Regions from separate parts of the Homo sapiens genome. Here region 2 is linked to region 1. The links are contacts of gene promoters, found by promoter capture Hi-C in human tissues and cell types (Jung and others, 2019). All regions are on one chromosome and are shown on one strand. Each heading gives the region's core, a stretch centred on a gene start or on the middle of the fragment in contact. The rest is flanking DNA. Distances are from core to core; before and after follow the strand shown. Region 1 holds the start of MYO5B (myosin VB). Region 2 overlaps ACAA2 (acetyl-CoA acyltransferase 2).

Region 1 (7,809 bases), core at 3,830-6,329:
TGGATACAATGTGGAAAACTCAATTCAGTACTCAAATCTGTATGAGAGAAGCAGTGGATTGCCAGCTGGCTGAGGGTGATGAGGACATTATGGACCTCTGGAAATGAGAGAGGACCTGCAGAAGTTCAATGACTGTGCTGGCTGCCTCACAGGATAATGAGTTCTCCATCCGCAGCAGTGTCTAATCAGAGACTGGGTGGTCCCACATTTGGGAAGGTGAGCATTCTTGCACTGGGCATTAGGCTAGATGACCTCCACCCCAAAAACTGTGATTCAGGGTCAGTGAGTCCATGCCCAGTTTTTAGTTCAGGGATAAGTTTGTTTTCTCCCACCCTTTCTTCCATGCAGGTAAAGTTGTCCCCTTTTCATGTTTAGGGAGTTTATATTCCAACTGTGAATATACTTTATGGCTCCTCATCCAGATCCAGAATTCACTTTATTCATTCCCTTGCCCTGGTTTGGGGGGGCCAGACCTCAGGAGAAATCCTGACATAATTTAAGACAAGTTTTCTGGAAGAGACAGAATTTGGAGAGAAAGGAGTCTAACGGATTATGTTATTATTGAAAACATTTGCTGTCCTGTTCTGGTTGCTCCTCCAGTCAGTGCCCTGCCCTGATAATTTCAGAAGCAGCCCTGCATCTTGTTTTGGCCAATGAGATGTGAGTGTATCCCTCTCAGTATTGAAATGTGAGTCAGTCCTCAAGCAGAAGCTTTAGAAGCTGGAACGGGGTTTGCTGCATCTCTTTTCCTTCCACCACAACACAGGGAAGCTTCCAGATGGGAGCCCAAAGGAAAGTCTCTAGAGCAGAGCCGCATCCAACCCACGGTAGGTACGTAATATGAGCAAGAAAGACAGCCTTTGTTTAAGGAACTGAGGTTTTCAGGATAGAGCAGGAAAGGGGGAAGATATGAATCTGTTTGGTAAAGGAGAGGATATAAGAAAATTATTATTATTTTTGGAAACAGAGTCTCACTCTGTTGCCCAGGCTGGAGTACACTGGCACAATCTCAGCTCACTGCCCCCTCCGCCCCCTGGGTTCAAGAGATTCTCCTGCCTCAGCCTCCCAAGTAGCTGGGTCTGCAGGCATGCTAATTTTTGTATTTTTAGTAGAGATGGGGTTTCACCATGTGGGCCAGGCTGGTTGTGAACTCCTGACCTCAAGTGATCCGCCTCAGCCTCCCAAAGTGCTGGGATTACAGGTATGAGCCACTGTGTCCAGCCCATAAGAAAATAATTTTAACTGTCACTGTATAGTTTATAAACCGCTTTCACAGAAGGGCCAGTGAATAAGAAGCCTTCTTCTTAGTGGAATCCCTCCTCTCTTTCTTTGCTTATGCAAATTTTTCTGTTTAGTAATCCCTTTATTTTCTCTTTTCCACTAATTAATGAGCAGTACTTCCTTTAAGACTTGGCTCAAAACATATCTCTATTTACCTACTATTTACTGTGATCAACTTTGTGCAAGTCATGTTCTAGGAAGTGCAGAGGACACAAATATGGATCAGGTGTGGTCCCTGCCCTCAAGACTCTTAGAACCTAGTGGTGAGGAGGAGAAAGGGATATTAGTTCACATATCATACAGGGTGCAAATGAATGCCTTGGAAGTTCACTTTTTATTATTTGTGTGAGGGAAATCCTCACCTGTCAGGAAGGAGACTAAGGCATTTCCAACAGGTATCTTCTTTTTACTTTGAGAAGCCGTGGAGCACAGAGCAATGTTTCTCAAAGTGTGGGCCCTACACCACCTGGGATATGTATTAAATTTGCAGACTCATAGGCCGGGCATGGTGGCTCACGTCTGTCATCCCAGCACTTTGGGGGCCAAGGTGGGCAGATCACCTGAGGTTGATCCATCTCTGCTAAACCCCGTCTCTACTAAAAATACAAAATCAGCCAGGCATGGTGGCGCATGCCTATAATCCCAGTTACTCGGGAGGCTGAGGCAGGAGAATCGCTTGAACCCGGGAGGCGGAGGTTGCGGTGAGCTGAGATGGCACCACTGCACTCCAGCCTGAGCAGCAAGAGCAAAACTCCATCTCAAAAAAAAAAAAAAAAAAAAATTCAGACTCATTGATCATGTCTCTGACCAACTGAATTAACATCCCCTGATAGCCCCTTAATCCTGGTACACACTGAAGTTCAACATCCATTGACATAAAAAGCAAGGGTTAGACGCTCGAGTGAGACTTTAATTGAACAGTAGCTGTCTGACCTAGAGTGTTTTTCACACCCTTCTTCCCTAAGCCTCACTTTGCCCATCTGTGAAACAGCCTTAATATTCTGAACCTCCTTTATAAGGTTGCTCTGAGGCTTCAACAGGATCACAGAAGTAAAGCGCTTGGTATGTTTCCTGGATCAAGTAAGTTTTAAAATGTCTTTATTGTTCAAAGGAGGGAAACACCATATCTGATTGTGGAATTAGAAATTCACAAAGCTCTGGCCAAGTGTAGGACTCAGGAATGCGATTCAGTTCAGTTAACATGAATTGAGCTTTTCATTTGTGCCAGGTGTGATGGAAGCCAGACAGTTGGAACCAGTTACGGGTGGGGAGAAAGGATGGAAACAAATGAATGTCAGGTTGGTCCGAGGTCCAAGTGGCATTGTTACCATTGCCTATCTGCAGGTGGAAAGGTGGATCTTGAGTAAGGTTAGAATTAGATTTGAGAATTAGCATTGTGAGCAAGAGACAAAATGGGGGCGTGGCTGAGAAGAAAGATGAGATCTCTGAAATGGAGCATAGTTTTATTCAGAAACCAGGAAGAGGACGCAGGCCTAGAAAATAATGTTGAGAAGGTTTGGTTAGAGAGGCTGAGAAAACAAGAGAAAAATAGTACTCAGGGAAGAGATGGTTTAACGTAATGGGTTGAATCAATTCCCACCCCATGCTTCACAGTGATGAGGCAATTTCAATAGGATAGGTCTGAGTGGAAGCCAAATAAGAAGAAATTAGAACAGCAACATTTATTTATTTATTTATTTATTTATTTATTATTTTTTAAAGATGGAGTCTTGTTCTGTCACCCAGGCTGGAGTGCAGTGGTGTGGTCTCGGCTCACTGCAACCTCCACCTCCCAGGTTCAAGCGATTCTCCTGCCTCAGCCTTCCAAGTAGCTAGGATTACAGGCATGCGCCACCACGCCCAGCTAATTTTTGTACTTTTAGTAGAGACGGGGTTTCACCATGTTAGCCAGGCTGGTCTTGAACTCCTGACTTCAAGTGATCGGCCCACATTGGCCTCCCGAAGTGCTGGGATTATAGGCATGAGCCACCACACCCGGCCAGAACAGCAGCTCTTAAACTTGGCTGCCATTAGAACCATCTGGGAGCTCTTCAGAATCCTTTCACCCAGGGCAACACCCCCCAGACAAGTTAAATCAGAATTTCTGGGAGTGGGAACCAGACATCCACTTGTTTCAAAAGTGATTCTGATGTGCATAAAGTGTTGAGAATCAGAGAATTAAGGAGGTACTGGGCGTAAGTGGAGATAGCTAAATAAGTGAAGCTACTGCTTTAAGAAGTTTAGCAGGAGAGGAAAACACAAAAAGCCAGGGGCCAGTGGAGAGAGGAAGAGTTGCTGGTAGAGAGATGGGACCACTAATGGTGGTGGAGGAAGAGGCCAGGATCTAGGCAGGACTGATGACTTTCTTATTCAAAAAGGGGAGAATCACCTGGAGGCAGAAAGAACAATGAGTACTGGCCCCACACCAGAGTTTATGGTTCAGTAGGTCTGCAGTGGAGCCCAATAACTTGTATTTCTAACAGTTACCAGGTGATGCTGATGGTGGGCGTGGGGGGTGGGGACACACTTTAAGAGCTACAGGAATCCGGGGAAGGGAAATATGCAGAAAAACTTTTGAGGAAGAGAAAAAAATCCCTTTCTGCTCTTGCCACTGATGTGAAGAGTTCCATTTTTAGGTCCAATGAGAGCCGCCCAAGCTTTGGTCAATGCATTTGTCACCCTGGAAGTACCATCCTTTAGACTTTCAGAGGAGCTTTAAAAATTGGGATACCCAGGTCCCATCCTTCATTATATCAGAATTCCTTGGGTTGGGGCCTCTTCCTTGGAACGCTTAAAGCTCCCCATGTGACTCTCATTGTGGAGGTGCCCATGGGAAGGCCTGCACAGGTGAATTACAACGGGATCTTGAGTTCCAGGTGGGATGCCTCTGAGAATCACCTTCTGGGGCTCTTGAACAACTGCCCCGGCTGGTACAGATATATCTTCCGGTTGAGAACCACTTTTCAGGGGCCACCCCTGGGTCAGGGACAGATGTCAGCTTCAGAAGGGAGTGTCTCCTCTGACAGCCCCTCGTCTCCCTCCACAGACTTCTGGCAGTTTTTTTTTTTTTTTCTTGGTTGAAATTTCTACTTTTCACTGGAAGTAGGAGAGGAGCTGAAGTTGCTGCAGGCAGCCAAGTGCCATGGTCAGAGAGGGAACACAAATAAACGAGGTAGTGAGTGGCAAAAGGACCCGGAGTCTGCATGTAGACGAGACGGGGGTTGGGAGAACGTGAGACTTCCCGGAAAAGCAGAAGCCCTCTGAGATGAGTGGCCTGGAGTCTCCTTGGAGGCTGTGGGCGAAAGTGGACAATATTTGTACAGAAGGAGTTACGACTCCCACTTTACTGACAAGGATTTCCGCGCAGAGAGTTCAGTTTGAAGGAGAAGATCCCTGGTGTATGTATATCCAGGTCGCCTTAATAACGATCTACGAGTAACTGAATTTTAATCATGAAAGCGCTGAATACAGCCAGGTAAAATCGAGGGCAATGTCTGGGGCCTTCCAGCCATAGACGCTTCTCTTTTTTCCCCCCTCTCTGGTTAGTTCCTCTTCCCTTTTCTTGTCTGCACCGCGTTCATGCCGGACTCCGCGGGGCCCGGTGCGGGTGGAAGCGGAGCGCGGCAGGGCAGGTGCGGGCGCCGGGGCGCACCTGTGCCTGCGCGCGCGCGGCGTCCAGCAGGGGGCGGCCCGCGCCGGTCCCGGAGCTCCTCTCTGAGCGCCCCGCCCCCGGCCCGGAGGCCCAGGTGGCAGCGGGGGCGCGGGAGGGCGCGTCGGGCCGGGCACCGGCAGGGCTCAGAGGCGCGGCGGCGCACGGGCCGTCCGCTCTGACGCGAGCGGGTCCTCCCTCCTCGCCGGCCCTCGCCTCCTCCCCACACCTGGGAGGGGAGTGGTGCGGCGCGGCCTCCTCCCCCGGCGCTCGCAACTCCTGTCCGGCCGTAGCTGCGCCGCCGCGGCGGGAGTAAAGGTCGCGCCGCCGGGAGCGAGCCGGCCGCGGCGCCTGCGGGAAGCCGGCGGGGCAGGTCGGAGAAGAGCGAGAAGATCGAGAAACTCCAGGCCAGCCCGGGAACATGGCGCCAGGCGGGCCAGCCGCGGACTGAGAGCCGCGGGGCAGCCAGGAGCCGGGGCCCGAGCCCCGCCCGGCCCGGGCCATGTCGGTGGGCGAGCTCTACAGCCAGGTGAGCGCGGCCGCGAGGGAGGCGCCCCGGGGCCGGGGTGGCGCGCTCGGGGCCACCTAGTACTCAGGGTCGCCTTCTCCCTCGGCTACTGGAGGCGGGAGGTGACGGGAGACCCCCCTCCGCGGTGTCCTCCTCGTCACTGTCCTCGGAGTCCCTAACTTCGGTTGGCGGAGAAAGTTTGGCGGTTCCGGGAACGCCCGCACTGACCGGCCACCCGGCTCCTAGAGGTTCCGCAGCGCCACGGCTCAGCACCAAGCCAGGGCTGTCGCCCCCTCCCCGCCGCGCCCCTCACTTTCGTTGCCTGGGCTCGGCTCCAACCGAGTTCCCCGAACGGCAGGGCGACCCTGCCAGCTCTGAGCGCCGTGCGCGGGACGGGCCCCCGCGGTGCTCCCGCTGCTGTCCCCTGTCCCCGCCGTGGACCCCACCCCAGGGGCTCTGCGGCGCCGGCTCTCGAGGGCGCGCCTCCGAGGCGTCCTTTCCTCCCGCATACCCACAACAGGGAACCCTGGACTTGGGAGAGGTGGGGGTTCTGGACTTGGTGGAGAGGGAGGAGACAACCTGGCGTGAGGGCGCGGCGGCTGGATGGAGTGAGGGTAAGCAATGGGTAGAGGGGTGCGCCGTTATCTCCGGAGACCCCAGGGAAGAGCATTGTGAATTTGCTGGGGATGGATGTTTTGACGCGGCCTCTTTGGTACAAAGAGGGCTTCAGTGACTGCGGGGAGGGGGTTGGAGTAAAGTCGAACCGGGAGCAGGGTGTGAGTTTCAGGATGCCTTCAAGGTCAGAAGGGATGTGTGAGGCTGGGTGCTCCGAATCGGGAACAGGTGCAGCCCGGGCGGAGACGCCCGCGTTCCGCAGCAGTTGCTGTGGTTAAAGTTAGGGACAAGCCACCGCTTCCAGGGGAGCTCGCGGCAGCGCTGCAGCCGCCCGGGACCCCTCGAGTTTCAACCTGGAGTCAGTAGTGAGAGGGGCAAAGGCCTTTTCTTCACATGTGCCCTATGCACCTTTAAGAAAACAAGTTTTGGATAGTCCAATGCCTGGTTTTCCTGTTCGTCTTCTTGGGTGGCCAAAACACGTTTAACAGTGCCTATGCACACGCCTCCATGCAGAGTTGTGTGTGCGTGTGGTGTCCACGCGCGTTGCGTGGGTATGCGATTCCCGGGACACCCGCCCGGGCCAACAGGTCTGGGCTGGGTAGGAACAGTCACTTCCGCGTCCTTACCTGGCGATCACACGCGGCTGTCTAGCCCATGTGGGAGCCCTTCGGCTCCGTGGGCTGGCCACCCTTCTAAGTTTGAGGAATTATTCAACTCTCCCATTCCTCCTGGAGGGGAGCAGGGCCGGGATGAGTTCATGCTCAGGAAGGTGGCCGCGGAGGCTGTCACCTGGCTGGGGGTGGGGCCGCAGCAGCCTCAAATACAGCTTCCGAGCCCACCAGGGGCCACCTGTGCAGCGATCAGGGATGGGCGACGGCCTCTGGGGGAGGAGGGGAGGAGGTGGGAGCCAGGGCGTGAACTCTGTGACAGTCCTGGCCCTGGAACGGCACCCCACCCCTCTTAGCTGTGGAGGTATTGGGAGGATCCCTAAAAGCTCAGCTTTCAGTTCTTTCACTGAAGCCGGTTAGGTTTTCAGGAGCTGGGACTGGAGGCTGGAAGCCAGTGAGGCAGGGGAAAAATCTGAACTGGAGTGCTCAAAGAGCCGAAGCTTTGTTACATTAAAGTGCATGGAGATACAACTTGTGCTCCTAAGTAAAAGGAGTGACTCAACTGAATATACCTACAATGTGTCAAAGTCCTTTGTCAGGCAATATTGAATTGCTGTATTATATGAGGGGGAAAGTTTGTGGGGGAAAAATGGAGTTAAAAGATTAAAAATATAAACTTTATTTCTCAACACAGTTTCCATCAAGTTCAAGACACTTTTTTAAGTTATACCAGCCACTTAGTTCGTCCCTAAAGAACTGAGGGTCCTGGGAATTTAACCATGTCAATGCAGTCTCTTTTACATTATTAACTGGAAAAGATGCAGGTCATTTAGTTCAAGATTAGGACACAAAGTCAGAAGGAGCCAAATCAGGACTGTGAGGTGGACGCCTAATAGTTTTCCACAGAAACTCTTGCAAAATTGCTCTTCTTTGAGAGGAATGAGAAGGAGCATTGTTGTGGCAGAAAAGGACTTTCTGGTGAAGTTTCCTGGGTGTTTTTCTGCTAAAGCTTTGGCTTCCTAAAGACACTCATAATAAGCAGATGTCTTCATCATTTGGCCTTCTAGAAAGACAACAAGCAAAATGGCTTGAGCATTCCCCCAAAATGTTGCTGTGATCTCTGCTCTGAACCAGTCCATCTTTGCTGT
Region 2 (7,809 bases), core at 1,386-3,885, 390 kb after region 1:
GTGGCACTCGCCTGTAGTCCCAGCTACTCGGGAGGCTGTGGTGGAGGATTGCTTGAGCCCAGGAGGTTGAGGCTGCAGTGAGCCAAGATCACACTACCGCACTTCAGCCTGGGTGACAGAGTGAAACCCTGCCTCCAAACAAACAAACAAAAAAAACCCAAACCAAAAATATATGATTGAGAACATTTTCTCTGTTCAAAATAATTGTTTTAGTTCAGTTAAGGTCTTACTTGAGCTAACCTTTACAGTCTGGGAGCATCAAATAAGAAGTAATATAGGTAAAGGGGAGGTTTTTTTTTGTTTTTATTTTCCCATGCACACCCTTTCCTTTGTAGATATTGCATATTTCACTACTAGCACTGCCCTATCAAATGCTTTCTTAGAATATGAGACATAGGGGAGAAGTTCATAAAAGGAACTTTGTAGAGAGACAAATGAAATTAGGCTCTATTGTTTCTGAGAAGTGAGGGGTCATTTCCATGTGTGCAATATGTCATTTTTATTTCTGGATGCTTTATATATTTTTGTTATCTTTGGATTTCAAAAGTTTGACAATGATGTGCCAAGCTGCAGGAGAACGGGGTGTGGAGTGTTACGTGTGGTGTTTATTAGAGTTGAGGTTTACCAAGCTTTAATATACAAATTTATGTTTTTTATCAAATTTGGAAATTTCTTCTTTATTATTTCTGCAAATGTTTTTTTAAATCCATTCTCTGTCCTCTCCTATGACTGTAACTTGTTAGTCCTTGAGGTTCTGCCCGTGTTTTTTTACTATCCGACTTTAAAGAAAAAATTTACAAACTTTGTTTTTGAGCAGATTTAGGTTTTACAAAAAAATTGAGCAGAAAGTACGGAGTATTACCATGTGCTCCCTTGCCCGGTCCGTTTCCCCTATTATTAACATTTTGCATTAGTGTGGTACATTTGTTACAATTGATGAGCTAACATTGATATATTATTATTCACTGAAGTTCATATTTTGCATTCAAGTTCATTCATTGTATTGTATAGTTCTATGGGTTTTGACAAATGTGCAAATGACCGATGTCAGTATTATAGTGTCATGCAGATTAATTTCACCACCCTAAACATCATCTGTGATTCACTTATTTATCCCTGTCTCTGAACCCCTGGCAAGCACTGATCTTTTTACTGTCTCCATAGCTTTGCCTTTTCCAGATATCATGTAGTTGGAATCATACAGTATATGGCCTTTCCAGACTGGCTTCTTTCACTTAGCGACATGCATTTAAGATTCCTTCCTTTTATGGCTTGATAGCTCACTTCTTTTTATTGCTGAATAATATTCCATTGTATGGCTGCACCACAGTTTGTTTATCCATTCACCTGTTGAAGGACATTGTTGTGGGAAGTCAGGGACCCTGAATGGAGGGACCGGCTAGAGCTGTGGCAGAGGAACATAAATTGTGAAGATTTCATGGACATTTATCACTTCCCTAATAATACTCTTAACGCCTGTCTTACTTTAATCTCTTAATCCCGTTATCTTCGTAAGCTGAGGATGTACGTCACCTCAGGTCCACTGTGATGATTGTGTTAACTGTACAAATTGATTGTAAAACGTGTGTTTGAGCAATATGAAATCAGTGCACCTTGAACAGAATAACAGCGATTTTTAGGGAACAAGGGAAGATAACCATAAGGTCTTTACTGCCTGCGGGGTCGGGCAGTAGGAGCCATATTTTTCTTCTTGCAGAGAGCCTATAAACGGATATGCAAGTAGGAGAGATATCACTAAATTCTTTTCCTAGCAAGGAATGTTAAGACCCTAGGAAAAGAATTGTATTCCTGGGGGGAGGTCTATAAATGGCCGCTCTGGGAGTGTCTGTCTTATGCGGTTGAGATAAGGACTGAAATACCCCCTGGTCTCCTGCAGTACCCTCAGGCTTATTAGGGTGGGGAAAAAACGCTTCTTGGTAAATTTGAGGTCAGACCAGTTCTCTGCTATTGAACACTGTTTTCTGTTGTTTAAGATGTTTATCAAGACAATATGTGCACAGCTGAACATAGGCCCTTATCAGGAGTTTTTGATTTTGCCCTTTGCCTTGTGATCTTTGCTTTGTCCTTTGCCTTGTGATCTTTATTGGCCTCAGAAGCATGTGATCTTTGTTCTCCTTTTTGCCCTTTGAAGCATATGATCTTTGTGACCTACTCCCTGTTCGTACACCTGCTCCCCTTTTGAAATCCTTAATAAAAACCTGCTGGTTTTGTGGTTCAGGTGGGCATCCTGGACCTACCGATATGTGATGTCACCCCCGGCGGCCCAGCTGTAAAATTCCTCTCTTTGTACTCTTTCTGTTTCTCAGACCGGCCGACACTTAAGGAAAATAGAACCTACACTGAAATATTGGGGGGCGGGTTCCCATGATAGGACATCGTGGTTGCCTTCAAGTTTTAACAATTAGGAATAAACATTTGTTTGCAGGTTTTTGTTTGAACATAAGTTTTCAAATCATTTAGGTAAATACAAGGAACCTGATTGCTGTATCATACATATGGTTAGGTGTGTTTAGTTTTATAAGAAACTGCCAAAGTGTCTTCCAAGCTGGCCATACCATTTGCATTCCCACCAGCAGTGAATGAATTTCTGTTGTTCCACATCCTCACCAGTGTTTGGTGTTGTCAGTGTTTGGGATTTTAGCCTTTCTAAAATCCAAAAGACTAATAGTTGTGTAGTAGTATCTCATTGTTTTAATTTGCAATTCCCTAATGACATACAATGTTGAGCATCTTTTCATATGCTTATTTGCCATCTGTATATCTTCTTTAGTAAGGTATCTGTTCAGATCTTTTGCCCATTTTTAAATTGGGTTGCATGGGTTTTTTTTTTTTTTTTTAATTGCTGAGCTGTAAGAACACTTTGTATGTTTTGGATACCAGTCCCTTATCAGTTAGGTGTTTTTATAAATATTTTCTCCTAGTCTGTCGCTTGTCTTTTCATTCTCTTAACAGCATCTTTTGCAGAGCAGAGGTTATTTATTCATTTGTTTTTAGAGGGTCCCGCTCTGTCACCCAGGCTGGAGTACAGTGGTGTGAACACGGCCACTGTAGCCTTGACCTCCTGGGCTCTAGCAGTCCCCTTGCCTCAGCCTCCCAAGTGGCTAGGACCACAAGCACACACCACCATGCTTGGCTGATTTCTTAATTTTTTATAGAGACAGGGTCCCATCATGTCTCCCAGGCTGGTCTCAAACTCCTGGGCTCAAGCAGTCCTCCCACCTTGGCCTTCCAAAATGCTGGGATTATAGGCATGAGCCACTGCACACAGCCAGAAGTTTTCTATTTTAATGAAGTCCAACCTAAGTTTTCCCTTCATGGATCCTGCTTTTGGTGTTAGATCTAAAAAATTATCACCAAACCCAAAGCCATGTAGATTTTTCTCGTATGTTCTAAGAGTTTTGCATTTTATATTTAAGTCTATGATCTCTTTGTTTTTGTTTCTGTTTTTTTAGATAAGAGATCTCACTCTGTCACCCAGGCTGGAGTGCAGTGACTTGATTGTAGCCCACGGTAGCCTTGAACTCAGCCTCCTGAATAGCTGGGACTACAGGCACATGCCACTATGCCCAACTAATTTTTTACATTTTTTAGAGATGGGGATCTCGCTATGTTGCCTAGGCTGGTTTCAAACTCCTATCCTGACACAGTCCTCCCACCTCAGCCTCTTGAGTAGCTGAGATTATAGGCTTGAGCCACAGTGCCCAGCCCACTATCAAAGTTGACGCATTTTTGCCTGGATTCATTTTGTTTGGTATATAGATGTTTTGTTGTTCCAGCACTGTTTGTTGGAAAGACGATCCTTTTTCCAGTGAATTGCCTTTCCTCCTTTGTCAGACCTTGAGGTTCTGGCTTTGTTTTTTAATCTTTTTTTTTTCATCTGTTCTTCAGATTGGTTAATTTCTATTTATCTATCTTCAAAGTCGCTGAATTTTTCTCCTTTCATTTCTATTTTGCTGTTAAGCCCATCCAGGGAATTTTTTATTTCAGGTATTTTCCAGTTTTGGAATTTCCATTTTGGATTTTTATAGTATGTATTTCTTTACTGAGATGTCCTATGTTTTATTAGGAGCATATTTTCCTCTACATCCTTGAGCATAGTTGTAATAGAATGCTATTTTAAAATCCTTGTCTGCTAATTTCAGTGTCTGGGTCTTCTTGGGATTGGTCTCTGTTGATTGTCATATTTTTTGTTTCCTCATATGTGGATTAACTTTGAATTATATTATGAATATTGCAGATGGAACATTGTGGAGACTGGATTCTGTTATAATCCTGCAGACAGAACTGACTTATTGATTGGTTGGCTATTTATTTTTTGTAGACAGTTACTTTGCCTACAAAATCACCCCCATGCACCCCCGTGATAAACTATGTCTCCCCTTGTAGTGGGCAGCAGCTTAAATCTAAGTTCAGTTTTTTAAGGCTTGGCTTAGGTGCTTGTGGTCTGACCTACACATGAATGGCTAAGGAGTCAGCCAAATATTTGGGCAGAGTTTATATGTGAAATTTGGAATCTCGCTCTATGGTGCTCCTCTTTCCCAGATTCTCATTCACTTTCTAGTGGCTGTGCTTACCATGAATTTTATTCTCTGATTCTTCAAGCCAGTAAGACTGTTTCTGAGTTCTAGCCATTCCATGCATCATGGACTGTTAGTCTTCAAGTTAGTTGCTATAAATAAATTGGACACTTACCCTGTTCTGTTCCCTTCCTCTAAGTATCAACTCTTCTCCTTACCTGTCTAGTTTTGTTCATTTCCAAGACCGTCAGGTAGTAGTTGTTCTTATATATTGTCTGGAGTTTTTCATTGTTATCTGTTGGAGGGTTGGTCAGATAGGAGCATAGTAGGCCATGACCAGAAGCAGAACTAATGAAATTAGGAAGAAGGCATGGAAAGAGGAAAGAAGAATGAAATAAAGCAACCACTGATAGGCCAGGTGCAGTAGCTCATGCCTATAATCCTAGCAGTTTGGGAGGCCAAGGTGGGAGGATTGCTTGAGCCCAGGAGTTCGAGACCAGCCTGGGAAACATAGCAAGACCCCATCTCTACAAAAAAAAAAAAGAAAAAAAGGTAAAAATTAGCCAGGTGTGGTGGCACATGCCTGTAGTCCTACCTACTTGGGAGGCTGAGGCAGGGGGATCACTTGAGTTGGGAAAGTCGAGGCTGCAGAGGTCGAGGCTGCAGGGAGCTGTGATCACATCACTGCACTCTAGCCTGGGCACAGAGCAAGACTGTCTCAAAAAAAAAAGAAAACACTGATATAAAAATAGGCAGAGACTGTTAAGGAAGGAGGATGAAAGGAAACTTGAAAAGATTCAGGAAGGCATCATGGTACAGAATAACCAATTTACCAGAACAAAACGTTTGTAATGCACTCGACTAGTATTTATGGCCTTTTGTAACTATCTGAATTTGTATCTGTAAAAAACTGAGTGGATCTGTTCTAAATTATAGTTATATATATTGCTCCTAATATTCCTTTAAACTGCAAATTTCTCAAAATAGGAATGAAAAGAGAGGTTGAAATAGAAATATTTTAGGCTAGGCTTGGTTTGTTTGATGAAAGAGATCATAAACTGGAAGATTATACTTAGATACCAGTAGTGGTATAATGCTTGAATAGTCTCATTTGTAGATCAGTATCTTATCACAAACCCATTGCCGAAAGTCCCATAATTTCTTGACAAGATGTGGAAATGTGAGCTTAGATTGTCTTGGAGAGAATAAAGTTAGTATATGCAAAGTGCTAGCATGAAGTCTATTCCATAGTAAGTGTCCCCTCTATGTTAGCTATAATATTTACCTTGCAGAGTTGCTGGGAAGATTAGCTTTTGTGTGGAAAGTGATAAAATGTCTAGTATTTAGTAGACACCTAATGAATGTCAATATGATGAAATGGCTATAACTGATGCTGCTTACTGATATGCCGGTTTTGCACTGTACAGCTCTAATGATGATGAGTGGGTACCACTCACATCATAATCATATATTTGTATAGTCACAAGTTTTTTTTTGGCAGATGGTAGTAGGTGATTGGGAAGGGGTGATTTTTATTTATTTGTACAAGGACACCGATTTAACTAATAGTGATGCTGCAAATTTATAGTCTTAGTTTGTATTAGTAGATGTATAGATAATTCCTCTATTCTTTGTGATTAGATAAAATGCATGCTATTTTTGTTATATTCTTATATTCTAAGGGACACATTTTAATAGGATGTTGGCAAACTACAGTGTCTTTAGAGGAAAGCAGTCAGAATTAATGTCAAATAAAAAACTATTGAAAGAATGCCTTTAATTTACCTGAGATGAGAGTCACTAGGTTTGGGGACTTACAGGTTAGCTGACTTCAGATACTGGAGGTGGGGGATACACATGTAGAAGGTAACCTGTTTTGCCCATTTTTTTTCTAAGAGTAAAAGATAATAGTTCAGGTTATTTATTTGAAGTCTGTAACTTGAGTCATCCTGTGACTCTAGAACCGGTAGCAGCATATATTCTAGAAACTACATCTCTATCTGTGTTGGTGCTTTTGGAGAGAACTAGAATTGGTGGATGGAAGACTTTGTAAGCTGAGTTAGTTCAATATAAAGAAATATCATTCGTTGGGGCCGGGAGTGGGTGACTCACGCCTGTAATTCTAGCACTTTGGGAGGCTGAGGTGGGTGGATCCCCTGAGGTCAGGAGTTCAAGACCAGCCTGGCCAACATGGTGAAACCCCGTCTCTACTAAAAATACAAAAATTAGCCGGGCCTGGTGGTGGGTGTCTGTAGTCCCAGCTACTCGGGAGGCTGAGGCAGGAGAATCACTTGAACCCGGGAGGCGGAGGTTGCAGTGAGCCGAAATCGCGCCACTGCGCTCCAGCCTGGGCGACAAGAGCAAAACTCTGTCTCCAAAAAAAAAAAAAAAAAAGCAATATCATTAGTTTATGTTGTCCATGACCAGCACACTGTTTCATGCAGTAGAGTATGCCCTCTTACTGAAAGTTTCCTGGCAGAGGTTTAGAGAGAACCTTTTGTCAGGAATTTTTAGAGGTAGTTCTTATAGAGTGAGTGGTTGACCTCAGACAACCCTAAGGCACCTTCTAGTTTGGAGATTCTTTTATTCTAATACTAGGCAATATACTCCAGCACATAGAAGAAGGATTTTAGTTCTCAACATATGTTTCTAGCATTGTGAAGCATCAGAGAACAAGAAAGTTGTCTAACCAGAATGGCTTTACATCACAGTGTAGCAGGACGAGCCACAGTCAAAACTCCTCAGACACTGGATTAAAGAAGGAAGAGGCTTTATTTGGCTTGGAGCATCCACCAACTTGCGTCTTAAGAGCCGAGCTCCCTCAAAAAGAAATTCTTGGCCCTTTTAAGGGCTTACAACTCTAAGGGGTCCACCTGAAAGGATGGTGATAGATCAAGCAAGTGTGGGGAACGTGACTGGGGGCTACATGCATTAGCTTACAGAGCAGAAAGTTTTGCAATGCTTTTTCATACAATGTCTGGAAATTACAGATAACACAAGTAGTTTAGGTCAGGGATTGATATTATTATTATTATTATTATTATTATTATTATTATTATTATTTTAACTACCAGGGCCGGGTGGTGGCACCAGGCCATCTGGCTATTTATCTTACTTCTGTTTCTTTTTAACTTTTTGCTTTTTTCTTTTCCTCCTGTTTTATAAACTAGGCAAGGGGGGCGGGGTGCGCAGGAGAAGTGGTGGTCTTCTTCCTTAACAGCATGCAGTGCAGTTCTTGGTACCTGCATGTAGGTAAAGATCAAACTGTCAA

The links. Contacts are between HindIII fragments. The study calls those that stand out against the background at their distance.
Region 2: a contact is called between a fragment that was not itself captured here and the fragment with the promoter of MYO5B in region 1, in 1 of the 25 tissues and cell types used here (bladder).

Annotation. Positions count from the first base shown.
Region 1 is chr18:50,192,417-50,200,225 of GRCh38, reverse strand. MYO5B (myosin VB) reads left to right here and starts at 5,079. Exons shown (of 40, transcript NM_001080467.3): 1 at 5,079-5,459. The coding sequence starts at 5,433. RefSeq lists silencers at 4,865-5,104, 5,165-5,404. The HindIII fragment of the contact is 5,061 bases long and covers 2,356-7,416 here.
Region 2 is chr18:49,803,032-49,810,840 of GRCh38, reverse strand. All of the region lies in intron 1 of ACAA2 (acetyl-CoA acyltransferase 2), which reads left to right. Among named protein-coding and RNA genes, the nearest start is that of ACAA2, 6.6 kb to the left of the region's middle. The HindIII fragment of the contact is 8,087 bases long and covers 1-6,678 here.